Regions from separate parts of the Homo sapiens genome. Here region 2 is linked to region 1. Evidence: promoter capture Hi-C in 16 types of primary human blood cells and fetal thymus (Javierre and others, 2016). All regions are on one chromosome and are shown on one strand. The core of a region is centred on a gene start or on the middle of the fragment in contact, and the rest is flanking DNA. Distances in the headings are between cores, read along the strand shown. Region 1 holds the start of STAMBPL1 (STAM binding protein like 1). Region 2 overlaps LIPA (lipase A, lysosomal acid type).

Region 1 (3,922 bases), core at 683-3,182:
AAGTTGCTATATCAGAGTTCTTGGTCACAACGCTGAAATCATTTCTGGCTAACTGAATCAGAAGAGAAATATATTGGAAAGTCGTTAAGTAGCATACCAAAGAGACAGGAAGTTTGGCAAATAAGTCTCCTTACACAGGAAGGGAAGCTTAGCAGCTGAAATTACAACAGGTGGGTCATCACACCATTCAAATAGCTCACTTAGGACACCACTGACATTGCCGCAGTGTTACCTCTGGCACTACTGTCCCTGAACACAAAACCCACTTCACAGATAATGGAGACATTTCTAAAATGTTTCTTCTTGAAACACATAATCCAGATTCAAATAACTGTACAGGAGTCTCTGAGGCTGATGTTGGGTCACAAAATGGTACTCTAGCCGCTGGGGAGCAGGGGACGATGGGTATTGGGCCATTTTGGCTTTTATGAGAATTTGGATGCTAGATAGCAAGACCATGATCAATGACCACTCTAAATACGTACGTGGAATTTTTTGTTTCATAATGCTTTTTAGGAATCTGGCTAACCTTCTTAATTACCACTGAATTTTAAATTGTCCAGTAGGTCATGAGATTATCTGGTTCAATACTGCAAACTCAAATGCCTACCATATTCTCAAATGTCAGTGAGGTGGGGGTGTATGGGAGTGGTGGGGACTGTGGAAAACTGAAGAGTGTCTTCACAGTCTAAAGGCGACACCTGCTATTCAGCTTCAGCTGATGGTTGCTAGAACTCGCCATGGACCAAATGTCTGATGTTACGATTTTACAGAAAATGTGAAAAGTCTGAATTTCTGTGAAATTTCCTAACTTCAACATTTGGAACCAACTTAAAACTAAGCAAAACAACACTGTTGCTTCTTAAAAATCAAGGCTGCAGGCTGCCTCCAACAATCAAACTCTTCATTTAAAAAAAAAAAAAGAATCCAGGGAGATGAGGCTTAAGAAGGTGAAATGCTTGAGACCAAATAACTCAGTTGGTGGCTGAGCCAGGGCTAGAATTTTGGTTTCCAGAGGAAAGGCTAACTAAGAAAAGCCAGTGTTTCCCCACCCCACTCTGCAGCCATTTCTCTCACTTGGAAGTAAGCTCCCAACCAAGCTCAAGAAAAGCGACTCTATTTCATCCAGCAGCAGCAGTCTCCATAAAATGTTTATCAGTTAATAGAACCTGTGAAGCCAATAGAAACAGCTTTCAGTGTTGGATCAGAGTTTAAATTTCAGCTTCTACTGCTTTCTAGGTGAGTAACCTGGGATAAATTATTTTACTTCTCTGTCTCTCGTTCATGGAAAAAACAAAAACAAAAACAAAAAATGAGTCCCTTTTATATACAGGGTTGTGGCAGATGGACTAAGATTTTGTGTACCGACTGCCTGACACAGTGCCAGAACTGTAGTAAGAACACCACACGTGATAGTAACATAACATCCAGGAGATATTCTAATACTTCTTATTTTCCAAGTACACACAAATTGGGGGTAGGGGGAAGGGCTAAGATGCTTAATAGTGGGCGTAGCCAGTTGTGGATAAATATCAAAAAGGGAATCCTAACATGAAGTATAAGTGGGATTTTCACCAAAACCCTATCCTTCCCCAGACTCCAGTGACAGTTTAACGGTCAGCTGCATCAAGGCTTGTGTACTGTGCAGTCTTAAAAGGCACCACTCCTGTCCATCTCGGTGAAATTGATGGTGGAGCAAAAGGGAGTTTAGGTGGTTCCGGTCTGGGGAGAAGACGTGCAGGGTTTCAGATGCGAAAGTCGCACCCAACCGCTTCACTCGGGCTCTAGGCCATCCGCAGGGGCCCTGCTTCCTTCCACCTGCGAGCTTTTTCTGCAGAATGCGGGAAGCCGCCGCCGCCGCCACAGAGGAGGGGGCGGAGGCAGAGGCGGAGGCGGCACCCAGGGGCCGGGGCAGGGGAGGCCGGGACCATCGCAGTGACAATTTATTTTCCTGCAGCAGCGGCAGCAGGGACGGTTGCTGCAGGTTCGGGGTCGGCCGGCCTGCGCGTGGGCTTGCGAGGACGCTGTTCGTCCCCTGCGCTGGGGTGTCCGACAGCGAGGAGGAGAACGACGCACGGAGCCCGCGCGACTGGAACCAGCAAAGCTCCATCTGTCGGCAGAGGAGAAGGGGGAGGAGGCACGGCCGAGGCAAACGAGCGGACGCCTCGTCGCCGGGTGCCGGTATCACCCCGCTGCAACGCCTTCCAGCAAAAGCCACCGCGGCCCGGGTTGCAGCAGCCGGACGGATGCCAAGGCCACACGGCAGCCACGGGGGCAGCCGTCGCAGTCGCCGTCCCACACGGGCTGCGGACACCAAGGGTTGCTAGTGAGTAGCGGCGCGCGCGCGTGAGTGAGAGCGCGCACCGGACGGGGAAGTGCGCACGGCGGGTGCGTCTGCCTCGTGGCCTGGCGCGCGCCGGCCCTTCCGCTGGCAGCGTCCGGTCCCGGGCTGGCTCTAGGGGAGGAAAAAATGCACTTTGGCGGCTGATCGCTTCCTTCCTGCCAGTCATGCAATCGGCCGCCTCCATCGGCGCCGCCTGTATGCGCCCCTCCGCTGGGCCCTCTGGGTTAGTTTCACCTTGATAGGGAGGCAGGAAGACCTGGCTGCTGGTGGCAGGGCGGGACTCTGGCCGTGACCTATACGTGGGTGCGCCTGTTTTTTTGGTTCAGCCCTGGGTTGCAGCCTTGGAGATGATGTCGACCTTGGGAGAGACCACTGCACTGTCTCTAGCGGCGCGGTGTGGAGGAGGGAGGGGCGAGGGTTAGAAAAACGGACCTTTACCCCGGCCGAGCAGGTGCCATGCCTTTCCAGATGATGTTACTTTTATGCCCTTTATGAGCGACTAAGACATTGCCCCTCACCTGAATAACTTAAAGCTTTCGCTGAAAGCCCCCAGTGAGATGCACAAAGAAATGGAATGTCTCCAAAACATATTTTTTTCAGAACTTTCTCTAAAACAACCCACGCTGCTGATACCCCCAGAGCCTAAGGTGCCATAATTGCTGAAGTTTAAAAGAAAATTTATGTAAGGAATAAGTAATTCAGGAAACGGAACCCAATCTAGAGGTTTGAAAAAAAAAATCAAGTGCCTGGGAAGTGGGGTGGGGTGGCTTGCTTCCTGGAAATCAGTGTTCGGTAGTAAGTAAAAAAGACAGCTTTCAAAGTAAGCCCCAGTGAGCACACTGCTTTCCAAACATCTTGCTCATTACTGACAATAACATGAAGTCCTGGATTTTAAGCTATTTCCGAAGACATAATAGATATCACTAGGATGCTTGTTTATGGTCTCATGATTTAAGGCCCTGTCAAGGTCAATAACGTAGATTTGTTCCAGCAGATAAATTATACCTGAATGTTTGATTGTTCGTGTCAATTTTTTTGAGGGTAGGTTTTGACGGTTGTTTTACACAGAAATTAAGCCACCGTGTTTTGTTTTTATCCCGACCTTGTTTCCATTGGAAATTTTGTGTTTTCAGGATGGATGCTACATTGCACTTCAAAAATATACTCTGCCACTGGATTGTAGTGGGCATTGTGTAGCTACACTATACATATCTTTATTTTTAATACAAGTTAATGTGTCGCTGAGCAGTAGGCTCTTTTTGTTTACCATTTGCACCATGAGAGCTTCTCCATTCAAAGGCATAAAATGTTATTGGAATCTACCTGCAAAATGAATTGGCTGATTGTTTTCTGTTCAGACACAGATACAGCAAATTGCCACTAAGAATCTGCTTTTGCGTATACGTTGGCTGTAATTTATGTAGCAACTGGTTCTTGGGAATTTCAAGAAGAAACTTGTTTTCTTATCCTCACCTATAAAGTAAGCACCAAAATTTAAATTATAAGGCAGATAACCTAAGTCCTTTACCTCTATCTCAACCTTCAAGGCCTGTTTCTTGGTACTCTTGCCCTGTTTCA
Region 2 (3,922 bases), core at 1,181-3,680, 340 kb after region 1:
AGATCAGTGGGATTGAGGGGAGGGATGGGGGGAGGTATCACAAAGGGGCAGCAGGGACCTTTTAGGATGATGATATATTTGCTGTGTCGATTATGGTGATGGTTTCACAGGTGTATACAAACACTGAAATATATCAAATTGTATACTTTAAATATTCTATGTCACTTATACCTCAATAAAAAATTTTTTTTTAAAATAATAAAACGACTCGGGAGGCTGAGGCAGGAGAATCACATGAAGCTGGGAGGCGGAGGTTGCAGTGAGCCAAGATCGCACCACTACACTCCAGCCTGGCAACAGAGTGAGAGTCCATCTCAAAAAAATAAAATAAAACGAAAAAATAAAAGTACAGATTCTCTAGTCCAAATGATTGGGACACAGGAGTATTTGTTTTATAAGCCTGGATGGTAGCCAATCCAAGAATTCCACTATAATTCCAACTCTCATTACTTTTTTAATGCAATGATTTATTAAATAGTGTACTTTTTAAAGCAATTTGGTGATTCTGATGCAAGCAGTGACTGCCAGGTGTTTGGAAATTACTATTCAAGACACCTACAGTGTCTTGGTTTAGGGCTTAAATGGTGAGTTGTTTCATATTAAAAATGAAGTTAGCTGAAAAATAAATGGCACAAAATTATGTCCTGAGGTAGAAAGAAGTCCCTGACATATTGTCAGGTGAAAAAAGAAAAGCAAGCTGTAAAACAGTAAGCAGGAGAAAAATCAATCTATTTCTACATCTACTATTTCTATCCATGTCTTTAACAGCATCTTTTTGAAAAGAGGTATAGAATAGAATGCAGAGACATTCAATATCTATGGATATGCATTTCCTCTCTGTCTAGGGTTATAGAATGATTTTATTTTCATTTTAAGATAATTTTTTTCTAGATGTAGTTTCTAAATTTTCTAGAATGAACATGACTTATTTACATGATAAAATAATCAAAACTGTATTTCAAAAGTCAGGGGCCCCCATTCACATCTATCATTGGTTTAGCTCCAGTTTATTCACTGCTATTCCAAGCATATTGTGATCAGGGGTTAGTGTTGAAACAGCGGTTTCTATCTCCAAAACGGACTTAAAATCACTCTTTATGAAGCAACACAGAAATAAAAAAAATCTAGGACTCAATGAGAAGCAGATGGAGGGGAGGAAACAGGAGGAGGAAAAGAAAGCTGGGGGAGAAGGAAAGGGAGAGAATATATTAACCTGAGACTTGAGGAAGGGAGAGGAGGGAAAAGAAAAATGTCAACCCCAGTAGCTGTTTGTGAACCCACGTATAACACAGTGTGCCCCACCACAGGTATCAAAAGCAACACAAGCACGATGACAAAAACCCAGGACTCTGGGGAAGAAAACCAGATCAGATTTGTAAGCAGGTTGTCTTTCTATTTGGAAAGGGTTTGCATGCCCAGACCTTTCTGATGTTGATTTTACATGAACCCCAAATGCACTCCTGGAATGCCTACCTGGCTCCAGTGTAACATGTTTTGCACAGAAGTTCCAGCAGGAGAATGTGTTGTATATACATCCACTCTAGACTGCAAAATAAATACATTGAAATGAAGAATGAAAACAGCATTAAGGTGGCATTGATAATAAACATTGTATTTTGCCCTTCAAAGCACTAAAAACTAGAGCCATAATCTCAAGTATGTGAGATGAGAGGTAGAAAAAAATTATTTGACTAAAAATCTGCCCTATAAAAATACATACAACCACATACAAAGTCCATATGAAGGAGGTGCAACAACATGGTAAGCACGGGACTGTGTGGGTTTCGTTTACAGGGCATTTTCATTTTGTTCTTCATGCTTTCCTGAATTTCCCAAATTTCATATAACAATCACACCTTGCTTTAATTATCAGACAAAAGAAAAATGGCACTGAAATTCCTTAGGGCCTTTATTCCAGGATTTTAACCCTTTTTTTCAAAATGCCACATGACAAACTAACAAACATATTTAGAAACACGGGCATAGTATTGGCCAAGGGTTTATATTTTATAAAATAAAATGGGTTTACATTTTATAAAATGTACTTTTATAAATACACACACACTGCAAGCATACACTTATGTGTATGTAAATGGCCGTTCCAAATTTAAATACTTATAGTAATTTTTGAAAATTTGTGTATTTTAGATTCGGGGGGTCCATGTGCAGGTTTGTTACAAGGGTGGATTGCATGATGCTGAGATGCGGGCTTCTATTGATCCCATAACCACAGTACTCAATATTGGCTATAGTACTCAACAGGCTTCAGCCCTTGTCCCTCTCCCTCCTTCCTTTTGGAGTCCCCACTGTCTATTGTTCCCATCTTTATGTTTATACTTATAATGATTTCTAAAAGAAACAAATCACTAGAGTAATTATAAATATTACAGCTTAATTTGTGACAGATCTCCTCATTCAATAATCTCCATCTAGGTACAACATAAGAAGGTGACCACAGTCAGCCTGAGGATGGCAGCAGGTGGTACCGTATTCTAGGCATTGGCCAAAGTTCATGCTTGTGCCTCTCAAATGAAAGACTCTTTAGAGTTCTGATGAGGTCATTCCCACCTCTCCCATATCATTCAACACAAATAAGCACATTCACAGATAAAAAAAAAAATCAAATCTTACTATAAACATGCATACCATATTTAAATTTCTCTCATTAAATCCACACAGAAGAAAACAGAGATTTCCACAGAGCTCCTTCAGTATGACATGAGTGCAAACGTGGGTACCCAGCCACTTCAAAAACGCACTCTGGGGAAGAAATTCTTTGTCTCCAAATAAGTCCTACAAAATAAAAAGAAACCCAAGAACATCTCAGCATTTCACTCTGGTGCATAAGTCTCCGTGACTCACCTCAGAAGCAGAGACAAGTACCCAATGTCTCCACGAATGGCCTCAGGAGAGAATGGCAACCAGTGGACATCAAATCAGGATGCTTTTGCACAAGTTTACCAAAGCAAAAATCACACACTACAGAGGTGTATTTAAATTCTCCAAATGAAGAGAAGGAGGCAGAAAATCAAATAAGTTTTCAGCGGACTTCTACAGTGGGAAAGGGCCTTAATGATCACCCCTCCCAGGGCCATCCCCAAGTAATTTTCATCTGACTCTGATGGATCGGTGGTTACTTCTAAGAAACAGTCAAGGCTGTGATTGATCAGTAATGTCTGCCAGAGGTGTGCCCATCTAATTCAATGCTACTGGCCAGCAGGCCAAATCCAGCCCATCGCTTGCTTTTTTATTTTGTTTTTTAAAATTTTTTTTATTGGCCAGGCATGGTAGCTCATGCCTGTAATCCCAGCACTTTGAGAGGCCAAGGCAGAAGGACTGCCTAAGCCTAGGAGATTCCATCTTTCCTATTTAAGTCTTCTAAATGGCCCATGAGAGACGTTATACCTCATTTCATGTATATATTTCTATACAGGATTTCATATGTGTGTGTGTGAACATATATTTCATAAAAGACATATAATGCATGCATAATAGAACATCTGGTCTTACCTAGCTTAAAACTCTTTTTCATGAAATCTATTTCCTCCCTGAACAGAGGTTCGGGTGCCACAGCTTTAGGGCAGAGCCCTGATGAAGCTACTGGCTGTGTTTAGGAGCCATATTATAAAATACAATAATGATAGCGTTGTTAGGTCACCCTCAGTGTAGCTAGGGATGGGCTTTTGGGAACATTTCCTATCTCCCATCTCCTACATCCTCTGTGCACAGGCTCACCTCATGGGATAAAGGGCAACTCCACAAATGCTTAAATTATTTTCTCCCAGACTCTCCTTGCTCTCCCTGTGAGGTGGGCAGAGCTGTACTGACACATGCTAACCATGAGTACACGTGGCACCAGTGTGCAGGAAACGACAGGCGTCCCCGGCCACCCCTGGGTCTGGAAGGAGGGGTAAACGGAAAA

Evidence for each region. The method cuts DNA at HindIII sites, captures the fragments that hold promoters and counts their contacts. A CHiCAGO score of 5 or more calls a contact.
Region 2: a fragment that was not itself captured here is called in contact with the fragment with the promoter of STAMBPL1 in region 1 in 2 of 17 cell types (activated CD4 T cells and naive CD4 T cells); the score reaches 6.8 in activated CD4 T cells.

Annotation. Positions count from the first base shown.
Region 1 is chr10:88,878,313-88,882,234 of GRCh38, forward strand. STAMBPL1 (STAM binding protein like 1) reads left to right here and starts at 1,933. Exons shown (of 11, transcript NM_020799.4): 1 at 1,933-2,326. LOC124902551 reads right to left here and starts at 2,352. Exons shown (of 1, transcript XM_047426134.1): 1 at 1,422-2,352. The coding sequence starts at 2,110. The coding sequence ends at 1,583. RefSeq lists a silencer at 1,822-1,951 and enhancers at 2,532-2,641, 3,662-3,922. The HindIII fragment of the contact is 2,730 bases long and covers 146-2,875 here.
Region 2 is chr10:89,221,038-89,224,959 of GRCh38, forward strand. It overlaps LIPA (lipase A, lysosomal acid type), which reads right to left. Exons shown (of 10, transcript NM_000235.4): 7 at 2,647-2,793; 8 at 1,474-1,545. Among named protein-coding and RNA genes, the nearest start is that of CH25H, 16 kb to the left of the region's middle. The HindIII fragment of the contact is 9,936 bases long and covers 1-3,922 here.